7 separate regions of the Homo sapiens genome follow, and regions 1, 2, 4, 5, 6 and 7 are each linked to region 3. The links are contacts of gene promoters, found by promoter capture Hi-C in blood cells and fetal thymus (Javierre and others, 2016). All regions are on one chromosome and are shown on one strand. Each heading gives the region's core, a stretch centred on a gene start or on the middle of the fragment in contact. The rest is flanking DNA. Distances are from core to core; before and after follow the strand shown.

Region 1 (4,037 bases), core at 1,026-3,525, 860 kb before region 3:
TTAAAACCTTTGATATTTGACAAACTTTCCAAAATCAAATTATAAATTATGTCTTTTTCTGACCTAATTAAAGCTTTAACATATTAGGTTCCCTAAAGTTCAGAAAATAACATAATTTGGCTTATTTGGTACAAAAATCATATAGGAAGCATTGTCAAATATGAAATGGTGTTGGGTTTTTGAGGGCTGCATTTTTAAAATATGTTATTAGTATGTGTTCCAAAATTATGGGAAATTCCTATAATTCTATATAACTCAGTGTACATTATCAGTAATAATCATAATTGTTATGTTAAAATTATTGTGTGCCGCAGAGGTAACAAATGTCCTTTTCAACTGTGTTTTTGACTATGGCTGTCCTAAAACTTTTTGTCATCCATGGACAATTTTTGTCTTGTTTTGGTCCTCTTTAGAAGGTGGCTTTATAATCAGCTACAAAACTCTAACAGGTGCTCTTGAATGCAGGTTTCTGATAACTTTGGAGATTGTGACATCAGAATAGAGGAAAAACTTTCAGGACTCATGGAGAGCTATAAAATATTCATGAGTATCAAGCAGAACAGGAATTAACTGCATGGACTGAACTGATCTTTTTGACTTTTTGCTTAAAATGTTGCTGATCTTTTGTTTTGCTTTTCAGAGTCTTAAAACTTTTCTTTTGAGCTATTGGCAGCTTTTAACAATTTAGTATACTCCCATAAACAAAGTTTGGAGCATATTTGTTTCTCTTTAGCTGATTTCTCCAGAATTTGGAAACTATTTGTAAGTATTCTTAACTCATGGCAATACAGTTATTTGCATAAGTGCAATAAGAATCTGTTTTCATTAATAACAGACCACAATTGGAGAAACTGCTTATTTTACCAAGGCTTTGACTGGAATGGTGTGCTTTCGTTTAAGGAATCAAACTTGACTTATGGAGCCAATAAAGCCCTTGAAAAAATTGGCCTCATATTTTGTGTACACAGTCCCTGTACAGGGTTTCTGACCTGTGGTAAGTAAAGAATGTCACTTCTAACAGGCGTAGAGGCCCCCGGTTTATCTTGGAACCTCAAGAGGAGAGAAAATTCACCCAACTCACAGGTATTTGATGGCACAAATCCATGGCTGGGCTCTGCTTTAAAAACATCTTATCTGGTATTCCTTCTATGGAACAAGGTTCCATCAAAGCCAATATAAAGCCTATGTAAAAAATAATTTTTTTTGCACTGTATATAAGTAATTAGGCCAAGTATAATAAAGCAAACCAATCCTACCATGATTTGTCTTTAGCAAAAATGGGAAACTGGAGAGAGAAAAATTATGTTTCAAAAACAATTGTACACCTGTTGTTAGATTCTAGTCTTGTCTAATGTTTTTCAATTTTTATTATTTCTACAGTTTGGGCTAAATTCTAATTTTCTCTTGACTACAAGTCTTCAAAATAATGTTTTCAATTTTTTTTTTCTTTTTTTTCCTTCTTTTTTTTTTTTTTTTTCAATTTTTCCTAACTGGGAGTCACTGAAAACCAAGCTGTGCTTTCTTAAAGCCCTGCAAACTGAAACTAGACAACTTAAAGTTCAGAAGAAAATAACAGCCACCTATTTACATGCATAAGCCACTTTCATACCTGCTACTGATTTATAGACTTCAGAGTAGTGGGGCCTATATTGATTTTCCAGGAGTGTTCTTTTGTTTGTTGTTTTTCTCCCTTCTTCTTCCACTATTTGCTCTTCTAGGAATAAACCATCCTAGCCATGAAAGATCAGGTGAAACCTGAGACCAGAGACTAATTTTCTAGTTAAATGCCATCTCCAAAATATTTTTAAAAAGAAAAGAGGGTAAATGTGAAAGGAAAACAAATCTTGAGGCCCCCAAATCACTAAGCTAAAGGGAAAAAGTTATGCTGGGAACTGCTTAGGGCAAATCTGCCTCCCATTCTATTCAAAGTCACCCCTCTGCTCACTGAGATGCATAGCTGATTGCCTCTTTTGGAAGGACTAAGCAGAAGCTCAAAATAATGCAACCCTTCCTGTCTCACCTGTCTTTTTACATATATTGACTGTACTTCTTATATATATTGATTGATGTCTCGTGTCTCCCTAAAATGTATAAAACTAAGCTGTACCCCAGCCACCTTGAGCACATGTTGTCAGGACCTCCTGAGGCTGTGTCATGGGGACATCCTCAATCTTGGCAAAATAAACTTTTAAATTAACTGAGACCTGTGCCAAATTTTCAGAGTTCACAGGAAGAAAGACAACCCTCCTTTATACGTTGCTCTGGGCCTCTGCATTGCCTGGATGGGAACTCTGGGATAGATGCTTTTAGAAGGGTCTACTGAACCCATGAGCCATTCCCTTCTCTGGAAATGGCTCCCCAAGTAATAGCTTGGGCTTCTAGGAATCCTGTTGGTAGTCTGTAACTCCCTACTCATCTGGATATAGTTAATTGGAAAATTTGACCTAGTTTGAGCTAATCATTTTTCTTCTCAGGAATGTGGAATCCAGACCAAAGGAAAGCCAGCCAGTCTATTTTCATGGCTGTTAGGTACAATTTGTATGCTTGGGAGCTGTGGAGTTGCTGTATTCTGTCATAAGGGCAGATCAGCAGAGAAAGCTAAAGCAAGAGGAGAATAGTAACATGGACACAAGGCAGAAATGCAGAGATCAAAGATGGAAAGAGAATATATCCCAGATTCCTAATGGCTTTCCAAAACTGATCCCCTTCTTTCTTGTTCCCCAAATACTGCCCTCTTCATATGGCCCTTAAATTCTTGTAATAAATTCTCCCTTCTTTGTTTAGGCCATTTCAAATTGGTTTCTGTTTCTTGCAACCAGACACCTTAAAAAAAATAAACTCAAATTTTCTTTCATGCTCCCTTTTTGCATGGTAATTAAGAGCATAGAATGTGGAGTAAAAGAGATAAAACTTTAAATTTCAGCTCCTTCATTCACTAGTTGAAAACCTAGTAGAAAAACTTAATCACTTAAACTCTCTGAGCTTTAATTTCCATATCTGGAAAAGGGGAATACTTTTAGCTATCTAAAAGCATATGGGTGTCAAACAAATATAACGACGTATATAAAATGCTAATTATAGTACCTGGCACAAAAGAAATACTTAATTAGTGGTAATAATGATTACATATTTATTCAATAAATACTTATCGATTACTAACTATACAAAAGTTAGATGACCTGAAGTGTACAAATATATTCAAGATTTAATCTCTGCTCTCAGACATGTACATAAATATCCATAATAGAAGACATTATAGAATAATAAAGGGTACATGAATGTTTTTAAAAAACAAGGACTCTAGGTCATAATCAAAGAAATGCAAATTAAAACCACAGTGCAATGCCATCAGAATCAGAAAAATAAAATAGATTAAAGGCCGGGCATGGTGGCTCACGCCTGTAATCCCAGCACTTTGGGAGGCCAAGGCGGACGGATCACGAGGTCAGGAGATCGAGACCATCCTGGCTAACATGGTGAAACCCCGTCTCTACTAAAAGTACAAAAAATTAGCTGGGTGTGGTGGTGGGCACCTGTAGTCCCAGCTACTCGGGAGGCTGAGGCAGGAGAATGGCATGAGCCCGGGAGGCGGAGCTTGCAGTGAGCCGAGATCACGCCACTGCACTCCAGCCTGGGTGACAGAGTAAGACTCCGTATTAAAAAAAAAAAAAAAAATAGATTAAAGATTTTTCTAATTTTTAAATTCTTTTTCTTTTTAAACATTTTTAATGTAGAAACAGGGTCTCACTATGTTGCCCAGGATGGTCTCGAACTCGTGGCCTCAAGCAATTCTCCCACCGCAGCCTCCCAAAGTGCTAGAATTATAGGTGTAAGCCACCACATCCAGCCAGTTTAGAGATTTCAAGTAATAGTGAGGATGTTGAACAACTGGAATTCTTGTACATTAATGGTGGGTATGTAAATTGATATAATCACTTGGGAAAACTGTGTGGCAGTATCTACATATGCATACCCTATGACCCAACAACTCTACTCTTACCTCTATACACAACAAAAGTGCATACATACTTTCACCA
Region 2 (4,175 bases), core at 1,466-3,965, 710 kb before region 3:
TTTTAACATTATAATTTCAAAAAAATACAGTTGCTCTTGATGTGGCCAAAATCTGCAAATTGTCCTGGGGGCAGGGAGAGGGGAATGTCATCTTAGCAGCAACAAAATTGAGTGATTTCTTTGGGAGGGGGAGATGGAGAGAGGAAGAACGGACTGGACTTAGGCTTCTCTGTAGCAACATTCAGTGCTAAAGCAGAGTGAAGCAAACTCTACCAGATTCTTGGGGGAGGAAGAAGCCAAGTGATTTCAAATGGAAGGGTAAATTGAAAGAGTGAGGGTGGACACTTCTTGAAAAATCTAGATGATGAAGCCCATCTAAAGAGATAAATGGACAAACATTGAGAACAGGACTGGTGGTGGTTAATTATTTAACTATGTAGCTATAGAATTATTTAAATAAGGCTATGGAAGCATATTGAAATGTTATAAATCTTGATATAGAAAAGATGATTAACAAGTTAGAAAATAGAATATCAAAGACGAGGTAATATATACATGCCCTAATTGGTTTTACTTTTCAGAATAGAAATTTTGTAAAATTGATAATATATCAAGAAATAGGGATGTAATATTCTGAATAGTTATGAAGGTAATCACCAAAACTGTAAGCCTGATAACTATTAAAATGAAAACACAAAATTAAAGATAACACAGGCCATATAAGAGAGCTAAAGGGAGAATTTACAATAGATGACAGAATTAAGACCAAACATAGATATGATGTCAAATAAGGAAAAATATGATTTAACTTATAAATGTATGAATATACAAAAACTGTTGGCAGTACCTTTGGGGAAGGGTACTAGGATTGGAAAGAAATTCAATAATTCACTGTTTTCCTTTTTGAACTTTTAAAAAATCATGTTTATACTGTCACAGTTTAGAGAAGTAAAGTGGGAAAAAAAAGCTGTTGGCCCTGGCTCCCTAGGGTTTTTACAACCAGTGGTGAAGAATGTCCACAGACATTCTTAAGCAGCAGTAGAGGTAAGCAGGTACACACATGAGCTGGAAAGATCTCAAAGCTGATTTGGATTCTTTTATCTTGCCATAAGAAATTACTTTCTTCAATCAAGGGTATAAAGACTGCTGAACTAGTTCATAATGAGGGTAGATGAAGGAGGTATCCATCTTCAAGAGTGGTAAATAGTTGACCCATACAAAGGACCAGCAGCCTCATGTGGACCCGTCTTAGCATCCTTCTCTCCTTCTACTCCAAGGGTGAAGAGTACTCGGAAGTTACTATTTATTCTCAAATCCTTGTGTCAGATTATTTTCATATCTTTCTTAGATCTGTTCTGGCTTAAGTCTTATTCTCTTATTCATGGAAATAGAAGACACTGAGCCCTTTCCCACATAAAAATATAGGACTACTGATTTCTAGAGCTTAAAGATGTTCTAACGCCTCGTTTGAAAGATTCAGAAACAGATCTAGAGATGTTAAAGTTTAGAAAAATGACACAAATAATGCCAGAAGTGGCAACAGAACTCAATTTTCCTGACTCCCAGGTTAGTGGTCTTTGTACTAAATGCAATTTCTTATCTTCCCTGAACAACCTGAGCTATGTACTTTAACAAAATTTTTTGTGGGTACATAGTAGGTGTACGTATTTATAGGGTTCATGAGACACTTTGATACAGCCATGCAACAAGTAATAATCACATCATAGAAAATGGAGTATCCATCCCCTCAAATATTTATCCTTTGTGTTACAAACAATCCAATTATACTCTTTTAGTTATTTTTAAATACACAATTAAATTATTGACTATAGTCACCCTATTGTGCTATCAAATACTAGATCTTATTCATTCTTTCTGTTTTTCTTTGACCCATTGTACTGCTAGATAGAACTCACATATTTGGTCCCTGCCTTTTCCCACCATTTGCAAATAGATTCTAGGAACGATCCTAATAGTTGCCAGGCACTGTTATCAGAGATCAAATCTGTCTTGTTTCCAATTGTGCCTGGGACATAATAGGATTTTTTTTTTTAAATAACAAAGCCATGTGTAGTGCTGCATGCCTGTTGTCCTAGCTACCCAGAAGGCTGAAGCTCAGGAGTTCAAGTCCACCCTGGGCAACAAGACTCCATCTCCACAACAAAAAAGTTTAAAAAGGTTACTATACGATTACTATACATTGTATGTATCAAAATATTACTCTCTCCCCCATAAATATGTACATTATATATCAATTAAAAGGAAGTAAATGGTGAGCATCCTTTCACTATGAAGAAAAGTTCTCCATATGCCCCCTACTTTCTTCTGTTTCATTTTTATGGAGACCTCTAAACAAAATGCTTTTCTCATAGATATGGAGGGACTCCTAAACAGGTTTTCTGCTTGAGAAAATCTTGATTTGAACTCCACGTATCATACACCATCAGGCAAAAAACCTCGCATTTACGTTGGAGAATACAGTCCAGAAAAAGAACAAAACCTCAAGTGTGGGCAGAAGATTGTGTGTATTTGCTATTAGGGAGGAGAGCTCAGGTTCCTTTTCTCTACAGTGACCATTAGACATTCCAAAGCACTGTCACTTGGTGTAGCTCAGTGCTCTTGGTTACTGAAGCAACAAGTGATCTCTGATGACAAAACAAAGGTAGGGTCGTGCCTAACACTGGTAAGGAGAAAACTGTGTCGAGTTAGTTAATAATTAATTTACATGTCAAGTTACAAGTTTTCTATCCTAAAATCCAAAAAAAGCAACAGCTCTTTTTTTTCCTCCAGTCATTAAATCACCCATTCAACAAACTTTCACCAGGCTCATGGTTTGTCAGCTATAGAAGAGAAAGGAGGGCGAAACCTGTGGTTAAGGCTTGCCTGAAGGATCTCACATTTGGGTTGGGGGCTGACATGCCAGTGAACAAATAGCCTCCTCAGGACTATGATAGAGGTATTTACAAAGAACTATAAGAGGACTGTATATTAAGTGTTTAGGGATCTGAGAAGTTTCAAAGAAATTGTGGCATTTGAACTGGATTTAAAGAATAAGGCTCAGGTACAACTTCATGTGAAAGAGTCGATATATTCACAAATTTGCCAAAGCCCAGTTAACTTCAATTCTTCGAGAGTTCCAGTTTTTTCCCAGGTGCAGTCAGTGTACCATTTTTTTCTGAGACCCACAGCCATTTTCTTTCATTGGCATGTTTTTAGGTTTATTTTTCAATAACTCCAGTACCCCTGAAATTTCCTTCCTTAGATCTTGAATAAATATATTCAAGTTGGGCATTACTGCATGGTTTGAGGATAATGTCTTTCCTGTTAAAAATATTTTTAAGTTTTTATACAAAGGTAATGTATGTGCTTGGTAAAAGAGAATGAATATAAAATGAAAAGCTATAATCTGCTACAGCCCCACCCAGCAGTCCCTTTGTCCAGCCATAAACAGAAAATAACAGAACTGTACTCATTTCCAAACTAAACACATCATTCTGCTCCTTGCCTTTTCTGCTTACTGTTTAATAACTTAGAGATAATTCTTTTTAATAGTTAACTAGATCTCTGTATGGATGTGCCACAATTTTTAAGCCATTCCTCTATTGATAATTGAGTTGGATACTTTTATTATAATTATTGCTGCACTGAACATCCTTGAAATGATTGTGTGGGTACAGCCATAGGATAAGTTCCTAGCAAGTAATTGCTGAGATAAAGAATGTATGCATTTAAATATTCATAGATACTGCCAAATTGCCTTCTTAAACTGTACTGTACTACCTTATACTACTACTCAACATTTGCGAGTATATTTTCCTGCCCCTTTTACCAAAGTTTTTGATTATTGAACTTACTAGTTTTATCACTGCATTAATATCTGATAATTGTTGATTTGTACTTAAGGTTTGAGTTTTTTTTATACATTGGTAATTTGCATTTCATCTTCGCCAGTTTTTAATATTGAATTACTAGGGTTTTTAAAAATTTTTATAAACTCTCTGAATATTGGTTTATTTATATGTATTAGAACTGTTATGATTATTTCGTACTTGTTTTTTCCCCACACAAACCAATTAATCTTTTCTTAGGGCTATTGAATTGTGTGTCTTGCTCACACCAAGGTTTATTTATAATATGCTTATGTTTTCCTCTTACTTTCATAGTTTCATTTTTTGTGTTTATATTTTTGATCCCTCCAGAATTTATTTTCTTATATGGAGTGAGGTAGGAAAATG
Region 3 (3,628 bases), core at 665-3,164:
GTCCAGCTAGTATTTTTACATTTTTAGTAGAGATGGGGTTTTGCCATGTTGCCCAGACTGGTTTCAAAATCCTGAGCTCAAGTGATCCGTCTGCCTTGGCCTCCCAAGGAGCTGGGATTACAGGCGTGAGCCACCGCACCTAGCCAGCTTTACATATTTTTAATCTGTCAGATTTTTTGTTCTTGCTATTCTGAGAAAAGTCACTGAAAAGAAATCATTTATCATTCTTTTTACACACAAAATAATGCAGTTTTTAAATTAATGAGATAGGCCATTTATATAAAATTTGAAAGAGTAAAGTTTTTATTCATAATTAAAATATATGTTATTCTGGAAAACAAAAAAAAAGTAGTGGTCTGTCTTCATTTGTAAAATTTCCTTTGAACTGATGGGAACTTATCTCACAGATGAGATTTGTGGGCCATTGTGAATACTCTACAGATTATGTACCCCACAGCTTTGAGCTGCCAGGTACTATAGCAGAGTGCTTCCTCAGACTCTTGAGCCAGTCTGTCTGGGTGAAATTTTTAGCTCCCCATATACTAACTATGTGATCTCAGGCAAGACAGCTTATTTATGCCACAACTGAGACCACAGTAAGGATAATAATAGTATCTACCTTGTGGATTATATGAGGACTGAATGAATTAACACACATAATGTTCTTAGAATAGCGGCTGGCACATGGTGAATAAATGTTAGCTCTTATTATAATATGTGGTAAACTGAGGAACTATCACTAGTTTTACTTGGATGAAGTACTGCATGAAATTTTTGTATTTTTATTGAGTTTCATCAATTTTTTTACTGAACCTAGTATGCTTTCTCGTCTGAACACACAAGGAAGAAAAGAAGGATGGCTCCTGTACGTGAAAGTGACCCCTGCATATAGTGCCTGAAATCAGAGGAAGCTTGTCAGTGTGGGCAGACACCACGAGCAGACCAATTTGACATTGTGCTTCTCTTTTAACCTCTTGAAAATTAATGAAAGTTATCTGATGAAGATCCTTACATTAATTGCTCCCGATTAAGGTTTAAAACCTTGGTTTACTGTGGGGTAAATTTATGTTTTTGATAGTCATCCAAAATCTTTGTACGCTTTCAGTTTCATTACAGAATAAAAAACAAATTTACCACAATGGATTATTACATTACATCTGGTATTTATTCCTCCCAAGAAGCTATCTGCTTCGGAAAAGCCAGGGGCGCCCTTCATTAATATATCTAACTGATGGTGTAATGACATAAAATTCCTTGTTGACCCCTGCTATTCAGTGTTATTGTCTTGGAACATAGAACTTGATAATCTCTTTTCACTGCATAACTACAAATGTTAGGCTGTAAGAGTATTTTACTTTGTTCAGTGCAGGTTCCAGACATTTCTCCTGATCACCAGAAGTTCTTTTGATTAATAAGGCTACTGGTCACGAAAACTCAGCTTACTAAAAGAGATCCAGTCTTCTGGTTCTAACTAAAACATCCCACCGGATGCAGGTGTACTTGCAAATTAAAGTTTGCCTCATGTGTCCTGTGTCTCAAGTCATACAGACGGCCCAGGAGGGTGGAGCCCCTGCAACCTGCCTAGCGGGGCGTTTGCGTGTCTGGGGGTGTCGGGACACGCGCAGGACACACACAGTCCCACTTTCCTAGTCTCGCACTTACCTCAAGGCTGTCAACTTTTACGCTCCTCCCTGCGCGCACAGCCCCCACCTCACGCTGCCACCCCTCACGCCCCGCCTTCAAAGTAGGAGGCACCATTGTCATTGGACACTGCTTCTCTCACTCCTATTCCAGAACCAATCACTCGAGTTCTAGTGGGGAGCGCCTAAGCCAATGGAAATGCTCGCTGCGGCAGCTGCCGGGTCCTGGGCGCTGGGAGGCGGTGCCGGGGGCGGGGTGCGGCTGGGGCGAATTAGTTGCCATTCGGAGTGAGGAGTGGGTAGAAGCGGCGGCGGCGGCGGCGGCGTTTGCGGTGGCGCGGACTCCGAGGAGCGCCAGCACCTCGAGGCCCTTTCTCTCTACCCTGGTCCCCAGAAGCAGGGGTCCCGGCCCTCCTTGCAGCTGCCGGGTTCTCCCGTGCGTGCAGCCCTGCGAGGGCTGAGGAGAAGGCTGCGAGCGGCCCTCGGGGCTGCGTGATCCGGGCCGTTGCCCTGTCAGCACGATGCCTGGAGCGGTGGCGGCGGCGGCTCCGGGCTCCTTGCGGCCCCGGCCGTGACCGCCACACCGAGCCCAGCCGGGCGGTTGCGGCCGTTGGACGTTTGTTTTCGCAGCCTTCCCCTCCCCCCTCGCCGAGGCGGCGGGGGTGTGCGTTGGGGAGGGGGAGCCCCGAGACTCCTCCCCCACAGCGATACCCCCGCCCCTCCCCCTTACACACTCGCACGCACTATCGCGCCGGCTCCCACACGCTCGCGCGCCTCCCGCCCCGCGCCTCCGTGTCGGCCGGCGGCGTCCAGGGCCCGCAGAGCCACCATGTCCACTGCCTCCTCCTCCTCCTCCTCCAGTTCCTCTCAGACCCCTCATCCCCCGTCGCAGAGGATGAGGCGCAGCGCCGCGGGGTCCCCGCCCGCCGTCGCCGCCGCCGGGAGCGGGAACGGTGCGGGCGGCGGCGGCGGCGTGGGCTGCGCCCCGGCTGCGGGAGCCGGCCGGCTGCTGCAGCCCATCCGCGCCACGGTGCCCTACCAGCTCTTGCGGGGCAGCCAGCACAGTCCCACGCGTCCGCCCGTCGCCGCTGCCGCCGCCTCGCTGGGCAGCCTCCCGGGGCCCGGCGCGGCCCGCGGCCCCAGCCCGTCCAGCCCGACGCCGCCGGCGGCCGCAGCCCCGGCCGAGCAGGCGCCGCGGGCCAAGGGCCGCCCGAGACGGTCCCCAGAGAGCCACCGGAGGAGCAGCTCACCTGAGAGACGGAGCCCCGGCTCGCCCGTGTGCAGAGGTAGCGAGCCCAACCCTCCCGTCCTCCCGGGCTGCGTCTCCCCGACGGTGCCCTCCGTGGAAACTTCAGCCTCTTCGGGCTTCTCTTTGCTAGTGCATTATCGAAGGTGTGAAAGTGGCTTTGGGAATCTCACCCCCCTGCGGTCGCTGTGGGGCTTGGAGGAGCGAACTGAAAAGCGACTTTTATTTGACCCTCATGCCGCCCCTCAGAGTCTCTCTTCCATCACTCGCCTGCTTCGAGAGGTTTTTCAGTTTAAGAGCTGGCTAGCTCATTCGTGTGTTTGCCGTTTGTAGCCGGGGAAGGAGAAGCTGGGCGAAACACTTAACACGCACACAAACTCTTCAGCAGCGGATAAGGTGGCGGTTGTAATCTCTACCGTCTCTTTGTGCTTTTCTGCAAAGTTCCTAACGTGCCTGTAACTACCGGGATAGTATTTTATTTTTTAGAGGGTTGGTGGCATTAGTTTCGATGTAAGGATATCGGCTGGATGTAATGATATCTGCTAGAGGGGACAGTTTTGAATGTACAATTGAAGTGTATACGGTTTTTTCCCTCAGTCCTCCCTCTCTCCCTCTCCCCCAGCCCCCCGCCACCCCGCCTCTCTCTCTCCCTCTCTTTCTCCCCCTCCCCTTTATATATTCATGCATCAGAGCACTCCTGCACTGGAAACAGTTTGTGCTCTACCGGAGATTTTCATGGTAA
Region 4 (3,594 bases), core at 200-2,699, 740 kb before region 3:
TCATAAATGTAGAGCTTAATGAATGTCACAGAGAACAAGCCATGTAACTACTAGTTTTTTTTGTGGTATCAATAAGCTTTCCTTTAATTACTGTTTGTATGGTATATTTTTCTATTATTTTGCTTTCAACTTTATAAATCTATTTAATATGTGTCTCTTGTAAGCTGCATGTAGATGAGTTTATTTTTCTCGAGTCTGGCTGGCAATCTTTATTTTTTAATTGTAGTTTTTAGTCTATTTGCTTTTAATATAATCATTGATATGTTTGGTTCTAAATCAACCACCTTACTATTTATTTTCTATTTGTCTCATCTATTCTATATTCCCTTTTTTTTTTTTTTTTTAACATTGCCTTGATTTGGGGTATTTTCCCATTTCATTTTTTTGTATTTGAATTTAATTATATTGTTTTACTGTTTGTTTGTTTAAAGATTATATTAGACATCCTTGGTCTTTTAAAGGCTATTATTAATCAGTTTTTTTTTTTTAAACAACTCCTGGACAGTGAAATGACTTTAGAGCTCTTAAACTCTATGGATCCTCCTTATACTTTTTGATGCCAGTTTTGTAATTTGTTTTAATGGTAATAATACTAATATCTTGTGAGACTTTCAAAAAATGTTTTATTATAGCCAATATTTATTTGGATTTACTTACATACATACCCTTTTTATGACTCTCCCTTCCTTCCTACATCTCTGAATTTTTATCTGAAATTCTTTTCCTTCTGCCTGAAGAATTAGAAATAGAACTGTTAGTGATAAATTCACTTAGGTTTTGTTTTTCTGAACATGTTTTTAAGGCTCATTCTTGAAGGACATTTTTGCTGGATACAGAATGCTAGGTTGGTAGTTCTGTTCTTTTAGCACTTTAAAAATAGTTCACTGCAGTCTTGATTCTGTTGTTGCTGCTAAAAAGTCAGCTGTCAATCTTATTACACCTTTGAAGTTTTTTTTTCTGTCCTTGGTTTTCAGTAGTTTGACTGATGTACTTAGGTAACATTTTCTTTTTCTTTGTAATCTTCATTGGGTTTTGTAGATTTTTAATGTGAGGGTTGGTACTGTGTCAGTTTCGGAAAATATTCAGTCATTATTTCTTTAAATACCACTTCTCCTGAGTTATGTCTCTTCCCTCAAAGGTTCCAGTTAACACTTACATTAGACCCTTTCACTTTATTCTGTTTTTTTGCTCAATTCTTTTTCAATCCATTTGTTTTTCCATACTTCATTCTGCGTATTTTCTTCTGACCTAGCTTTTTAGGTTATTAATTTTTTTCTTCAGCTGTGACTATTCTATGCCTAATTTCTTAATCTTGCCATTTAATTTCTTGACTTTATTAAGAATAGTTATTTCTAAGCTAAAAATATGAAAATCTTATTTGAGTCTTTTGGCTCTGTTTCTATTGTCTACTTTTTTGTGTTTAGCCGTAATTTTCATCTTGATGCCTGGTTGTTTTGGACATTGTGTATCAAAATTTTGTCCATGTTGTATACCAAAAAAAAAAAAGTCGTCATGATAATTTGAGGTTCTTCATGATTTTATATTTCTCCAGGAGAATATTTTTACAGTTAGGCTAGGGCGGATCATCCAGTCAGTGGCTGAGATGACTCTAACGTAGACTTCAGCCGTTGTAAAGATTGGTCTATTTTTGTTTTGTTCTTATTCTCAGATTGTAGCCTTTCAGAGTCCTTGATAAGAGCATAGGTGTTTTTCAGGACCTCTTCTCCTAAGCAGACTTTGGACATTAATTTTTGCTTAGCTTTATTGCCCTTGCTGTTTTCTCTTTCAGAATCAGTCATTGTCTTGAGGATAGAGCAGTGCCAGATGTCTGGTCTGCCTCTTTCCTTCCTTCTTCCAGATTTTGGCCCTACTAATTCTCACTGCCTTGATATCTTACCAGTGTCTTCAAACACATATTTATATTTTTTTACATTTTGTTCAGTTTTTCTGATTGCACTTGGTTGTACTAAAAGAACCTAGTCAGCCATTCCAGAAATACATGAAGTTGTTTTGTTTTTATTATTGTAGTGGTGATTGTTGGTTTGTACTTTTGCTTTCACAAACTATTTCAAAGCAATTTTGATTTTTAGGGTTATATTTCCCAGACCTCTACTTTCACTGCCCATTGCCCTCTGCTGTTAGTGGTGATTAGGTGAAGAGTTTGAGAAATGTAATGGAAAGGGCGTGGGTTTTTTTTTTTTGTTTTTTTTTTTTTGAGACAGAGTCTTGCTCTGTCACCCAGGCTGTAATACAGTGGCATGATCTCGGTCCTGCAGTCCTGCCTCCCAGGTTCTAGTGATTCTTTTGCCTCAGTCTCCCAGGTAGCTGGGATTACAGGCACGTACCACAACGCCTGGCTAATTTTTGTATTTTTAGTAGAGATGGGGTTTCACCATGTTGGCCAGGCTGGTCTTGAACTCCTGACCTCAGGTGATCCACCCGCCTTGGCCTCCCAAAGTGCTAGGATTACAGGCGTGAGCCACCACGCCCAGCCGGGCATGGGCTTTTTAAGCACACAGACCTACATTCAAACTGTGGCTCCTTCTGATTGTGTCAGCCTATATGAATTAATTACCTGTTTAAAATTACCTTTTTAAAATTTCTCTTTCCTCATCTGCAGACGGGTTTAGTGAGAATGAAAAAGGACATTGAAATTAAATTTTATTTAAAATGAAATAATGTATGGACAGCTTCTGGTATATAATAAATGCTTAGTAAACTTATTTTTTTAATTATCTTGAGGAATAGGAAACTAGAGTTAAGACCAATCTTTTAAGGAATTTAATAGAAGTTTATAACTTCACCATATAGTAATTGTTAACAAAAGCTTAAAAAGGGCGTTTATGTCAATGTTTGGTTGTGGGGCAGTTCAACAGGCATCTGTGTCCCAGGTACCCTACTTAATCTCGTTAATATTATAGATTCCATCCAAAATCTAGATCTTGCAGTATAGAGCAGAGGTCAGCAAACTTTTTCTTTTTTTTTTCTGAGATAGTTTCACTCTTTTGCCCAGGCTGGAGTTGAGTGGTGCAGTCTTGGCACACTGCAACCTCCGCCTTCTGAGTTCAAGTGATTCTCCCACCTTATTCTTACCAATTCTTCCCAAGTATTCACCTTATTCTTCCCAAGTAGCTGTGACTGCAGGCATATGCCACCATGCCCAGCTAATTTTTTACCATGTTGTCCAGGCTGGTCTCAAGCTCCTGACTTCAAGTGATCCACCCGCCTTGGCCTCCCAGAGTGCTGGGATTACAGGCATGAGCCACTGTGCCTAGCCAGCAAACTTTTTCTATAAAGGGCTAGGTACGGTTTTGTGAGACATATTGCCTCTATTGTAGCTATTCACTCTGCTGTTTTAGGGCAAAAGTAGCCGCAGTCAGTATATAAATGAATGGGCATGGGTGTGTTCAAATAAAACTCTATTTACAAAAACAGGTAGCAGGCCAGGTTTGGTCCATGGGTCCTCAAACTGTGCTGACCCTAGTCCTCCACAAGCTACAAGTGTTTTTTTACGTTTATAAAGGATTGTTTAAGAAGAAGATGCAACAGAAACCACATGAGACCCAAAAAGCCAAAAATATTTTATTTCTAGTT
Region 5 (3,874 bases), core at 869-3,368, 800 kb before region 3:
AGAAAACCCCATTGTCTCAGCCCAAAATCTCCTTAAGCTGATAAGCAACTTCAGCAAAGTCTCAGGATACAAAATCCATGTACAAAAATCACAAGCATTCTTATACACCAATAACAGACAAACAGAGAGCCAAACCATGAGTGAACTCTCATTCACAATTGCTTCAAAGAGAATAAAATACCTAGGAATCCAACTTACAAGGGACGTGAAGGACCTCCTCAAGGAGAACTACAAACCACTGCTCAAGGAAATAAAAGAGGATACAAACAAATGGAAGAACATTCCATGCTCATGGGTAGGAAGAATCAATATCGTGAAAATGGCCATACTGCCCAAGGTAATTTATAGATTCAATGCCATCCCCATCAAGCTACCAATGACTTTCTTCACAGAATTGGAAAAAACTACTTTAAAGTTCATATGGAACCAAAAAAGAGCCCGCATCGCCAAGTCAATCCTAAGCCAAAAGAACTAAGCTGGAGGCATCATGCTACCTGACTTCAAACTATACTACAAGGCTACAGTGACCAAAACAGCATGGTACTGGTACCAGAACAGAGATATAGATCAATGGAACAGAACAGAGCCCTCAGAAATAACACCGTATATCTACAACTATCTGATCTTTGACAAACCTGAGAAAAACAAGCAATGGGGAAAGGATTCCCTATTTAATAAATGGTGCTGGGGAAACTGGCTAGCCATATGTAGAAAGCTGAAACTGGATCCCTTCCTTACACCTTTCTTCATTTCTCATGTGGAACATTAATGTTAACGGGTCTATGATGTATGAAGAGCTAACTCTAAGTAAGCAGAAGTAAGTCAAATTCTATAACCTATTGATCTGAGATACCTAAAAAGGAGCTTGGATTTCAGGAGGATTGGGATACAGCTCTCCTCTTGCTTTACATTTTGCCATAGGCTGGGTTTTCCAGAAAACAGACTCTGAAATGGAGATCAGCATGTAGAAAGTTTATTAGGGAAGACTTTTAAGATCAGCACCTGTGCATGGAAAGAGACAGAAGCAGGATTGGACAGTGGGAAAAGTTGAGCTGTGATATAGTCTTAAAGTCCTCAGTCAACCCGACGAGGAACTCTGAAGGTGGAATGGCCCTAAAGAGTATCACAGGTCAGGGAAGGAAAGCTCTATTTTTAATACCCCTATGTTGATCAGTCATTGGATGTGGGTGCCTGAGGGGGCATGGCTTTAAGTTGTTTGCACCTGAGGCAGTTCCCTGAGAGGGCTGTAAGCTGAAGGTCATCTGCTGGCAGCACTCCCAATAGTTGTGGAAATAAATCTTTCTGTCCTGAAGGAGGAACAGGGCAAACCATTACAGTGTTCACCTTGGGTTTGCTGCCTTTGATTGCATGTAAATATTATTTTGTATTATTTAAGATGTGTAGGGTGAGTAAAATGCCCTAGAAACCCTAGGAAAGATTAACCTTGCCTGTCAACTTTATTCATTTATGTGTTTCTTTTAGATTTGAAAGCCTCAGAGAAGGACCAAACAGTGCCTGAGAAGTTTGAATTTAGAATAAAAGGTTGGTCTGGCATTTTTATGTGAACAGAACTAGAAACCACAGTAGCCAGGAAGAGAAGATGGCCAGATAACTGAAAGACAGAAGGCAGGTTAGGAAGGAGCTCAGGCCAGGTTGTGCCCACCCATCTGTGTTAGAAGATGGTGATCCTTGTGCAAGCAGATATGGAACTAAATAAAGCCCCTTTACTCACTGTGGTGGGATTATGTGGAATAAAGCACGCATCTAGGAGCCTTGACTATTTTTCCATTGCTTCCTTTTACATAATTATACCCATTTAATTTATCCTTTAATTTTTGTGAATGCATCACTCTATTTCAGTTACGCTAAGGGAATAAGAAAAAAATTGTGTCCATATTTGGATTAAAGAGAAAAGACAAACATCATATCCATGGGGTGCAGATGAGACAGGTGTAGGAGAAATCAAAGTGAGAAAGATTAAGAGGACGTTTCAGTGTAGGAAGCTCTAGATGCAAGAATTCAAAGCTTTCAAGACAGGAAGAAAGAGTCCAGAAAGGCATGTACTGCTATATCTTTTCTCATTTCCTTCTCCGATATGTTCCCTTTCAGGAGAAAAAAAAATGAATAGTTGTAAGCACCAATTTATGATCACATGGTACCAGTTGAGCATCTGTAATCCAAAAACCCAAAATCTGAAATGGTCTAAAATCCAAAGCTTTTTGAGCATCAACATGATGCTACGAGTGGAAAATTCCACACCTAATGTTATGTGATGAGTCACAGTCAAAATAGAAAAACTCATTTCATGCACAAAATTTTTGAAAATATTGTATAAAATTACCATCAGGTTATGTGTATAAGGTGCATATGAAACATACATTTCATGTTTAGACTTGGGTCCCATCCCAGAGATATTTCATTATGTATATGCAAATATTCCAAAAGTTCAAAAACTCTGAAGTCCAAAATACTTCTGGTCCCAGGCACTTGAGATAAGGGACACCTGTACCAGGCGTGTTCACGTTCTCTCATTTACTGATAACAACCATGTGAAAAAAACGTATATTACTGCCATTTTATCATGAGAAAAACCAAGACTCAGGGAGAATAATTAGGTTTCCTAAGCCCACACAATAAGTGATGGAACTGGGAAGAGAGTGTAGCACAGGTTTAGGGTGAGAAACAATTGGATTAAATGTCCTTCAGTATTTGAATGAATACAAAAATTGTGGTATATTCTTATAATAGAATATTACTGAACAATAAAAAGTAATAAACTATTGATAAACATAACAATATGGTTTAATTTCAAAGTAACAATGCCAGTGAATAAAACCAGATATGAAAAAGCACATAATGTATGATATCATTTTTATAACTCTAGAAAATGCAAACTAATCTCTATTGACAGAAAGCAGATCAGTGGTTGCTTGGAGATGGGGCAGGGTGGGAAGTGGCAGGAGGAAACTTTTGGAGGTGATAGATACATTCATTATCTTGACTGCGGTGATAGTTTCATGGGTGTATACATATGTCACAACATCAAATTATGCACTTTATGTATACTTATTGAATGTCAATTATACCTCAATAAAGCAGTTAAAAACAACCGGGTTGAAATCCGTGTTATACTATTTACAAATTGCTTAATCTCTAAGACTACATTTTTTAAAAATCAGTTAAATGGAGTTGCTAATGCCTACCACAGAGGGTTGGTGTAAACATTAAATCAGTAAGGCAAGTGCTTAGCACACTGTGTAATACAATAGTAAGCATGCCGCAGTAGTTATACAAGGAGTCCTAGACTGAGTTCTTCCTTCTTAGAGCTTTCTCCACTTTAACTAATCATGTTAGTCCTTTTTATTTACAGCTGGAATTCAAACACATCAATCTTACTTCAAAGACCAAGATCTTTCCACTAAACTGTGCTAAGCCATGACAAATTTTATGATTTGAATTGAGGAGGGCATGCCCTGATTGGACACCAGGCTCAGAGTATTCCACATAAATGCTCCTCTGTATTACCCCAGGGTCTGGAAAAGTCACTCTGGGCCAGGGAGGAAGACCAGTGGTTCAGCTGCATATTCTTTACCTATACTCCTTCAGATTCTATCTCTGCTCCTTTTTCAGATCCCTACTGGCTAAACAGCAATGAAATTGCTTATGCAGTGTACAGATAAATTGAGAGCAACAGGTCCTGTTTCTCAGGAGTTTGCCCCGAATGGCAATCCAAACTAGACATAATATTGGGAGAACAGCATTCATTGAGATTAACTGACTTACTCTTTATGAAACATTTGCTTTCCTGGATAAAATAGTGTATTAAGAATGTTATACATTATGTATTAAAAATGTTATACTGCACATTACACAT
Region 6 (3,812 bases), core at 970-3,469, 760 kb before region 3:
ATGCAGTTGTTGACATTCGGTTGTTTATAGTATCCTCTTATCATCCTTTGTATTTCTGTGAAACTATTAGCAATGCCCTACTTTCATTTCTGATTTCAGTAATTTGAGTCTTTTCTTTTTTTCTTAGTCTAGCTAGAGATTTATCAGTTTTGTTCCTTTTTGAAGAACCAACTTTTAGTTTCATTGATTTTTCCATGTTGCTTTCCTGTTTCCCATTTTGTTTATCTCTGTTCTTTATTGTTTTATTTCTTCTGCTAGCTTTGGGTTTAGTTTGTTCTTTTTCTGGTTTTTAAAGTTGTAAAAATAGGTTCTTGAATTGAGAACTTTCTTTTTGTTTCGTGTGTTAATAACTATAAATGTCTTCCTTAGCACTGCTTTATCTGTGTCCCATAAATTTTCTTATGTTGTGTTTTTCGTTTGTCTCTAAGTATTTTCTAATTACTCTTGTGATTGATTCTTCGCCCCATTGGTTGTTTGATTTCCACGCATTTGTGAATTTTCCATTTTCCTTCTTTTATTGATTTCTAACTTCATTGTATTGTGCTCAGAGAAGATACTTTGTATGCTATCTGTCTTTTAAAATCTATTAACACTTTATTTGTGGCCTAACATGGTGTATCCTGGGAAATATCCCCTGTGTACTTGAGAACAATATGTATTTGGTTATTGTTAGGCAGAATGTTCAGTCTATGTCTGTTAGACCAAGTTGGTTTATTGTGTTGTTCAAGTTCTCCATTCTGTGTGGTTCTGTTAATTATTGAGAGTGGGGTACTGAAGTCTCCCAACTGTTATCATAGAACTATTTCTCCTTTCATTTTTTTCACCTTTGGTTCGTTCATCTCAGTGGTCTGTTATTAGGTATGTAAGTGTTTATATAGCTGACCCCTGAACAACACAGAGGTTAGGGATGCTATCCCCCCCACGGAAATCTGCATGTAACTTTTGACTTTTCTAAAGTTTACTAATAGACTGCCGCTGGAAGTCTTACTGATAATGTAAGCAGTTGATTAACACATTTTATATATGTATTATTTACTGTGTTCTTATGATAAACTACAGAAAATAATGTATTAAGAAAATTATAAAGGAGAGAATTTATTTACAGTTCATTAAGTGGAAGTAGATAATCATGAATGCCTTCATTCTTGTCGTCTTCACATTGGGTTGAGGAAAAGGAAGGATTGGTCTTGATGTCTTCTGGGTGGCAGAGGTAGAAGAAGATGCACATATAGATGGACCTATACTGTTCAGACCCATGTTGTTCAAGGGTCAACTATAATTGTTATATCTTTTGCTGTATTGAATCTTTTATTAATATATAATGTCCTTCTTGTCTTTTGTAACCTTTTTTGATTTAAAGTCAATTTTGTCTGATATTAGTATGGCACTTCTGTTCTCTTTGTTCTTGTATGAATGGAATATCTTTTTTTCATGCCTTCACTTTCACCCTGTTTGTGTCTTTGGGCCTAAAGTGAGTCTTTAGTAGACAGCATGTAGTTGGATGATGTTTATCAATTCTGCAAATCTCTGCCTTTTGATTAGAGTTTAACCATTTACATTTAAAATCATAAGGAGGAACTTCTGTCATTTTGCCATTTTTTTCTATGTGCTTTGTAGCTATTTTGTCCTTATTTCCTGCATTACTGTCTCATTTCTTTTTGTGTGTATTCTATAAGCTATTTTCTTTGGTTACTGTGATGATTACACTTAATATTTAAAAATTACAATATTTATACCAGCTTAATTTCAGTAACATAAAAAAATTATGCTTCTTTACAATTCCATCCCCACCACTTATTGATGTTGCAGAATTATATCTTTATACATTGTGTGTCAAAAAATATAAACTAATTTTTTAATGTGTTAGTCTCAAGTTATGTAAAAAAATGTGGAGTTCCAAAGTTACAATAATACTAGAATTTATAATTGCCTATGTATTTACTGTCACTGCAATTTTTATTTTTTCATATAGCTACAAGTTATTATCTAGTATTCTTTTGTTTCGACTGGGAGAATTTTGCTCTACAGAGCAGGTCTTTTGGTAATAAACTCTCTCAGCTTTTTACTTGAGAATGTTTTATTTAAGAATGTCTTGAGAGGCTGAGGCAGGCGAATCACCTGAAGTCGGGAGTCAAGACCAGCCTGACCAACATGGAGAAACCCTGTCTCTGCTAAAAATACAAAAAAATTAGCTGGGTATGGTGGCATACTGCTGTAATCCCAGCTACTCGGGAGGCTGAGGCAGGAGAATCGCTTGAAACCAGGAGGCGGTGGTTGCAGTTAGCCACGATCGCGCCATTGCACTCCAGCCTGGGCAACAAGAGCAAAACTCCGTCTCAAAAAAAAAAAAAAGAAGAGAATGTCTCAGCTTTTGTTTTAAAGGACGGTTTTTGTGGATGTAGGATTCATGGTTGGCATTTTTTTTTTTGTTTTATTATCTTAATTATATTGGCCTATGCCTTCTGTCCTCCAAAGTGTCTGATGAGAAATCTGATAATTTTATTGAGGACTGCTTATGTGTGATTAGTTACTTCTTTCAGCTTTCAGGATTTTCTCTTTGCCTCTTAGTGGTTTCATTATAATATATTTTGCTGTGAGTCTCCTTGAAGTCATTCTACTTGGAGTCTTTTTCAGCTTCTTAGATGTTTATATTCATGCCTTTTATTAAAATTGGGATTTTCAACCATTGTTTCTTCAAACATTTTTTCTCTCTCCATTACTTGGGACTATGACAGTGTTTATGTAGGCCTACTTGATGGTGTCACAAGTCCCTTAGGACCTTCACATTTCTTCAGCCGTTTTTCTTTGTTTTCCTAAGACTCAATAATTTCAATTGTTCTCTCTTCAAGTTCACTGATTCTTTTTTTCTTCCTGTCTAGATCTGCCTTTCAGTCTCTCTAGTGGATTTTTAATTTCATTTATTGTACTTTTCGGCTTCAGAATTTTTGTGTGTATCCTTTTAGGTTTTCATTCTCTGTGTTTCTCTTACTCTGTTGCTTTTTTTTTTTTTTTTTTTTTTTTTTTTTTGAGGTCTCACTCTGTTGCTCAGGCTGGACTCAAACTCCTGGGCTCAAGCAATCCTCCCATCCCAGCTTCCTGGGTAGCTGGGACTGTAGTTGTGCACACTGTGCCTGGCTCAGATTTTCCATGTCTTTATTCATATTTCCATTTTGTTCATACATCATTTTCTTAACTTGGTCCACATTTTCCTTTAGTTCTTTGAGCATTTTTCAGAAAGTTGTTTTATAGTCTTTGTTTAACAGATCTACCATCGGGTCTTTTTCAGGGACAATTTGTTAGTTTATTTTCTTTCTTTTAGTGGGCCATATTTTTCTGTTTCTTTGTATACCTTGTGACTTTTTTGTTGAAAACTGGATGCTTAAATTTAATTTAATGTGGTAATTCTGGAAATTAGGTAGTATCCCTTCCTCAGGGTGTGCTTTTTTTCTTTGTTTTTTTTTTTTAATTGTTGCAGTCTCTTTGCCAAAGATCAGTCTGAGATTTTGTACAATTAAGGTATTTTCAGGTCTTTTCTGTGCCTGTGCCTTAAGCTGGATATGTAATACAATAGTCCCTCTTTATCCCTGCTTCCACTTTCTGAAGTTTCAGTTATGGTCAACAGTGGTCCAAAAATATTAAATGGAAAACTTCAGAAATAAACAGTTCATAAGTTTTAAATTACATGCTTTCTGAGTAGCATGATGAAATCTTGTTTCAACCTGCTTGGGACATGAATTATCCCTTTGTCCATCATATGCACGTTGTATATGTTACTCACCCGATAGTCACTTAGCAGCTGTCTTGATTATTAG
Region 7 (3,835 bases), core at 1,231-3,730, 820 kb before region 3:
CGCTCTGCTTCGGCTCGCCTCTGTGGGCTGCACCCACTGTCCAACCAGTCCCAGTGAGATGAACCAGGTACCTCAGTTGGAAATGCAGAAATCACCCATCTTCTGCAACAATCATGCCGGGAGTTGCAGACTGGAGCTGTTCCTATTCAGCCATCTTCAATGTTTTCCTGACGTTCCCTCTGTTTTAATCTTCACAACAAAAAGTCACCTGCAGCCAGGTGCGGTGGCTCACACCTGTAATCCCAGCACTTTGGCAGGCTGAGGCAGGTGGATCACGAGGTCAGGAGATCGAGACCATCCTGGCTAACACGGTGAAACTCCATCTCTACTAAAAATACAAAAAAAATTAGCTAGGCGTGCTGGCAGGCGCCTGTAGTCCCAGCTACTTGGGAGGCTGAGGCAGCAGAATGGCGTGAACCCAGGAGGCAGAGCTTGCAGTGAGCCAAGATCGTGCCACTGCTCTCCAGCCTGGGTGACAAAGCCTTGGTCTCAAAAAAAAAAAAAGTCGCCTGCAGTAAGCTGATGTCAGTCAGTTATATTTCTATTTTTCTGTCTCCCTATTCCTGTCTTATAATAAAAGTAACTTTAAAATGACTGCATTTTGTTCTTTGTTTCTGTTTTCTTCATCCCTTTCTGTGTGTAAAACCAAACCCTTCTGCACATCTCAGTGGAACACTTATTTTATGGAACGAAGTGTCGTCCTATTCTAGAATTGCAAATGAAGCCAGTTAAACCAATAAATATCTCAGTTAAGATCTTTATCTAAATTGATTGTACTTTTTTCTTTTGACATGAGCTAATTGTTTTCTGCTGAGAAGGTTTTGCAGTTTGCATTGTGGGCCATTAAAGATGCTGCCTATCTGAGCTGCTTTACCTGCCTGAATGGTAGGCTCAATGGCAACAATGACAAATCATACACATTTTTATCTTTCTTTATCAAAAGTCTTTCATTTTTCTTTTGTATCAACTACATTATCAACTCTTATAGGAAATGTTTTAGCTACATATATGAAAGCAATCAGTGACTCTGAACCCAGGACGTATTACCATTATCCAAAAGAAGGCTGTTTGCTTAAAAAGTTCCTTTGATTAAAAATGTCTTGTAGCTTGATAACATAAGCCCAAATCACCTTAATAAAATTACATTGCTCTCTTACTGATGCAGGTAGGGTACCTCAATGACTTTCCTCATTGGCCTGGCCTGTAGCTAGTTTACAATTTTACAAATGCTTTTCTAAGAACAACTGACAGGCAAACCACACATTTAAGTCCATGCTAATAACCAATTGTAAGCATCTTCCTCAACCTTATGGTCAAATTTACAAAGCAATCGTATTCTTGGCATCAGTGGGAACCAGTTGGAAAGATCTTTTTGAGGTACATCATGCTGGTTCTTTTGAGTAGGAAGAGGCTGGGTTGACCACATATATCATAGACCACCACTTCCCTCTTCTTTGGACCTGGAGATTGGCTGTGGCAGTGAGTATTCTGAGAACTGTTCCTCATGGGTTCTATGTCGTGGATAATTACTATTGCGGGCAGCAGTTTACACCCTCATTCTGGTTCACATGGGGCCCACAGAACCTACTGGATTCTCCATCAAGCCTGCACTGAGATTCTGCACAAACTCCTGTTATCATTGCAAAGAGTTTATCTCCTCTCCTTTAATCATATTCAGTATTATTTTTTAGTCCCCTTGGGCATTTGGATCATCCCTGGTGAAAACTGAGATTCTAATGAGTAGTACAATTGTCATTAAGAATTTCTTATAGGAAGTATTCGAATTTCATTACAGTATTTGGACTGAAGCAGCATTAATGTCAGATGAGTGCCCTCACCCTGTTATCCTCAGTCTGATATGTACCAGTGTGCTCTACTCTGCCCCAAAGTCCCATATGTGGATTTAGTACTACATATGGCTTTAAATACCATCTATTCACTGATGACTCCTCAGTTTATGTTTCTAGCATAGGCTTCTCTTGTGAACCCCATATTTACAAATTCATCTACCCACTTGACATCTTCAACTGCATGTCTAATAGGCATCTCAACTTAATGTGCCTAAAACAAATTTGTAATCTTTCCTGAAATATGTTCCTTTCTAAGTTCCCCCATCTCAGTAATAAATAAAATCTCTCCAGTTGTGTAGGTCAAAAGCTTGGAATCATCTTTGACGCCTCCTGCTCTCATATACCCCACATTTGATCTATCAGCAAATGCTGATGACTGTGCCCTCAAAATATATCCAGAAGTCAATGACTTCTCATCCCTTCCTTTGGAGCCAACCTAGTCCAAGTTATATTACCTTTTGCGATAGCCTCCCAATTGATATCATTGCTTCTGATTTTGCCCCACCACAAAGAGAGTCAGATCATGTCACCCCTCAGCTCAAAACCCTCCAATGTCTCCTCATCTCACTCAGTGCAAAGTTGAAGTCCTTTCACAGGCCTACAAGGCCCTACATGATTCTCAGGTACTTCACCTATTTCAAATCTCTTCTTCCTTCATGCATCTTCAGCCTCACTTATCTCACTGTTCTCCCAAAATACAGGATATAGGCCCCTCTGGGCCTTTGAACTTGTTACTCCCTCTGCTATAAATGCTTGTCCCTGAGATGGTCACATGTTTTTCTTTGTAACCTCTTTTAGGTTTTTCTTCAAATGTGCATTTCTCAGTGACCACCCTATTTAACATTACAGCTCCTGCTTGCAGCACTCTCTGCTTTTTTTTTTTTCTCCATTGCACTTATCACTATCTGACCTCGTGATTGTTTATGGTGTTACTCTCCCCACCCACCAAAATTTAAGCTTTATAAAGGAAGGAATTTTTGTTCTCCTGCTTCAAAGGTCTAACCCCAGATCAAAAGCCTGGCCTATACAGCTAATCTTCTGTATCTGTGGGTTCCACATCCATGAATTCTACCAACCATGATTAAAAATATTAAGGAAAAAGTTCAAAATAACAGTACAATAAAAATAATGTAAATATAGTATTATAATTATTTACATAGCATTTACATTGCACTAGGTATTACAAGTAATATAGAGATTATTTAAAATATACAGGAGGATGTATGAGGGTTACATGCAAATACTATGCCATTTTATATAAGGGTCTTGAGCATCTAGAAATTTTGGTATCCTGCAGTGGTTCTAGAACCAATCCCCCTCAAATACTGAGAAAAGACTGTATTAAGTACTCAAGAGATCTGCATTGCATGATTACCACAGCTGTCAGTAGTCTCTGGTGAGCATGAGTCTCCAGTGTGTTTGCTGGTGAGTAGGCTAGGGTGTGACAGGTCCTTAAGACAAGTGGAATTAAAGAACCTGACAAGAAAACATACAACTGCTCAGAATTCTCCTCCTGGAATGCCTGGGAGGTGAAGGAGACCAGAATGGCAGCCTGCCTGATGGGGTGACATCTCTCCACTCCCACAAGCAGCCTCAGGAACACAGGGCTGGGTAGGCCTCCTTATCTGGCCATCACATGGGGTATGAAGTAATACTCACTCACAAGAGTTCTTTTCATTGTACCCAGATCCTGACACTTCCTGGGCCTCATGCGAATCCCCAGGACCCCACCCCCTCTCCTTTAGACCCTTGGGCACAAAAAGTTCTCCCGTTTCTCCGAAAACAGAATTCCACTACCTTTGAGAAAGCTCCCAGAACTTAGAAAAGCCAGTTTATCCTACATGGAGGGTAAAAGGCTCTGGAATTAAGAAACTCTAAAGAACAAAGACCTTCTTTTATCCTATCTCAATACCTGTACTGTGTGTGTGTGTGCGTGCGTGTATGTGCGCACATGGGCGCAAATGCCTACCATTAGTCTCTTACAG

What was found. The method cuts DNA at HindIII sites, captures the fragments that hold promoters and counts their contacts. A CHiCAGO score of 5 or more calls a contact.
Region 1: a contact is called between a fragment that was not itself captured here and the fragment with the promoter of GLCCI1 in region 3, in 4 of 17 cell types (monocytes, total CD4 T cells, neutrophils and 1 more). The highest score is 7.4, in monocytes.
Region 2: a contact is called between a fragment that was not itself captured here and the fragment with the promoter of GLCCI1 in region 3, in 8 of 17 cell types (neutrophils, naive B cells, naive CD8 T cells and 5 more). The highest score is 10.2, in neutrophils.
Region 4: a fragment that was not itself captured here is called in contact with the fragment with the promoter of GLCCI1 in region 3 in 4 of 17 cell types (neutrophils, naive B cells, monocytes and 1 more); the score reaches 6.6 in neutrophils.
Region 5: a contact is called between a fragment that was not itself captured here and the fragment with the promoter of GLCCI1 in region 3, in 8 of 17 cell types (naive B cells, non-activated CD4 T cells, activated CD4 T cells and 5 more). The highest score is 10.4, in naive B cells.
Region 6: a contact is called between a fragment that was not itself captured here and the fragment with the promoter of GLCCI1 in region 3, in 1 of 17 cell types (neutrophils). The highest score is 8.0, in neutrophils.
Region 7: a contact is called between a fragment that was not itself captured here and the fragment with the promoter of GLCCI1 in region 3, in 4 of 17 cell types (erythroblasts, non-activated CD4 T cells, monocytes and 1 more). The highest score is 7.6, in erythroblasts.

Annotation. Positions count from the first base shown.
Region 1 is chr7:7,108,422-7,112,458 of GRCh38, forward strand. LOC105375138 (a long non-coding RNA gene) reads left to right here. Exons shown (of 5, transcript XR_927009.3): 5 at 1,022-2,854. Among named protein-coding and RNA genes, the nearest start is that of MIR3683, 43 kb to the left of the region's middle. The HindIII fragment of the contact is 4,408 bases long and covers 72-4,037 here.
Region 2 is chr7:7,252,577-7,256,751 of GRCh38, forward strand. LINC03016 (long intergenic non-protein coding RNA 3016) reads left to right here and starts at 2,578. Exons shown (of 4, transcript NR_108073.1): 1 at 2,578-2,602. The HindIII fragment of the contact is 9,696 bases long and covers 1-4,175 here.
Region 3 is chr7:7,966,882-7,970,509 of GRCh38, forward strand. It overlaps GLCCI1 (glucocorticoid induced 1), which reads left to right and starts at 1,915. Exons shown (of 8, transcript NM_138426.4): 1 at 1,915-2,926. The coding sequence starts at 2,470. GLCCI1-DT (GLCCI1 divergent transcript) reads right to left here and starts at 1,871. Exons shown (of 5, transcript NR_110018.1): 1 at 1,663-1,871. RefSeq lists silencers at 1,738-1,887, 2,098-2,497, 2,578-2,637, 2,728-2,807 and an enhancer at 3,288-3,377. The HindIII fragment of the contact is 4,760 bases long and covers 910-3,628 here.
Region 4 is chr7:7,230,296-7,233,889 of GRCh38, forward strand. The region is part of intron 1 of C1GALT1 (core 1 synthase, glycoprotein-N-acetylgalactosamine 3-beta-galactosyltransferase 1); the gene reads left to right. Among named protein-coding and RNA genes, the nearest start is that of LINC03016, 23 kb to the right of the region's middle. The HindIII fragment of the contact is 2,751 bases long and covers 75-2,825 here.
Region 5 is chr7:7,163,559-7,167,432 of GRCh38, forward strand. It overlaps a transcript of C1GALT1 not described here. Among named protein-coding and RNA genes, the nearest start is that of C1GALT1, 17 kb to the right of the region's middle. The HindIII fragment of the contact is 190 bases long and covers 2,024-2,213 here.
Region 6 is chr7:7,204,339-7,208,150 of GRCh38, forward strand. The region is part of intron 1 of C1GALT1 (core 1 synthase, glycoprotein-N-acetylgalactosamine 3-beta-galactosyltransferase 1); the gene reads left to right. Among named protein-coding and RNA genes, the nearest start is that of C1GALT1, 24 kb to the left of the region's middle. The HindIII fragment of the contact is 6,450 bases long and covers 1-3,812 here.
Region 7 is chr7:7,145,591-7,149,425 of GRCh38, forward strand. No RefSeq gene overlaps it. Among named protein-coding and RNA genes, the nearest start is that of C1GALT1, 35 kb to the right of the region's middle. RefSeq lists a cis regulatory region at 3,199-3,676. The HindIII fragment of the contact is 650 bases long and covers 2,156-2,805 here.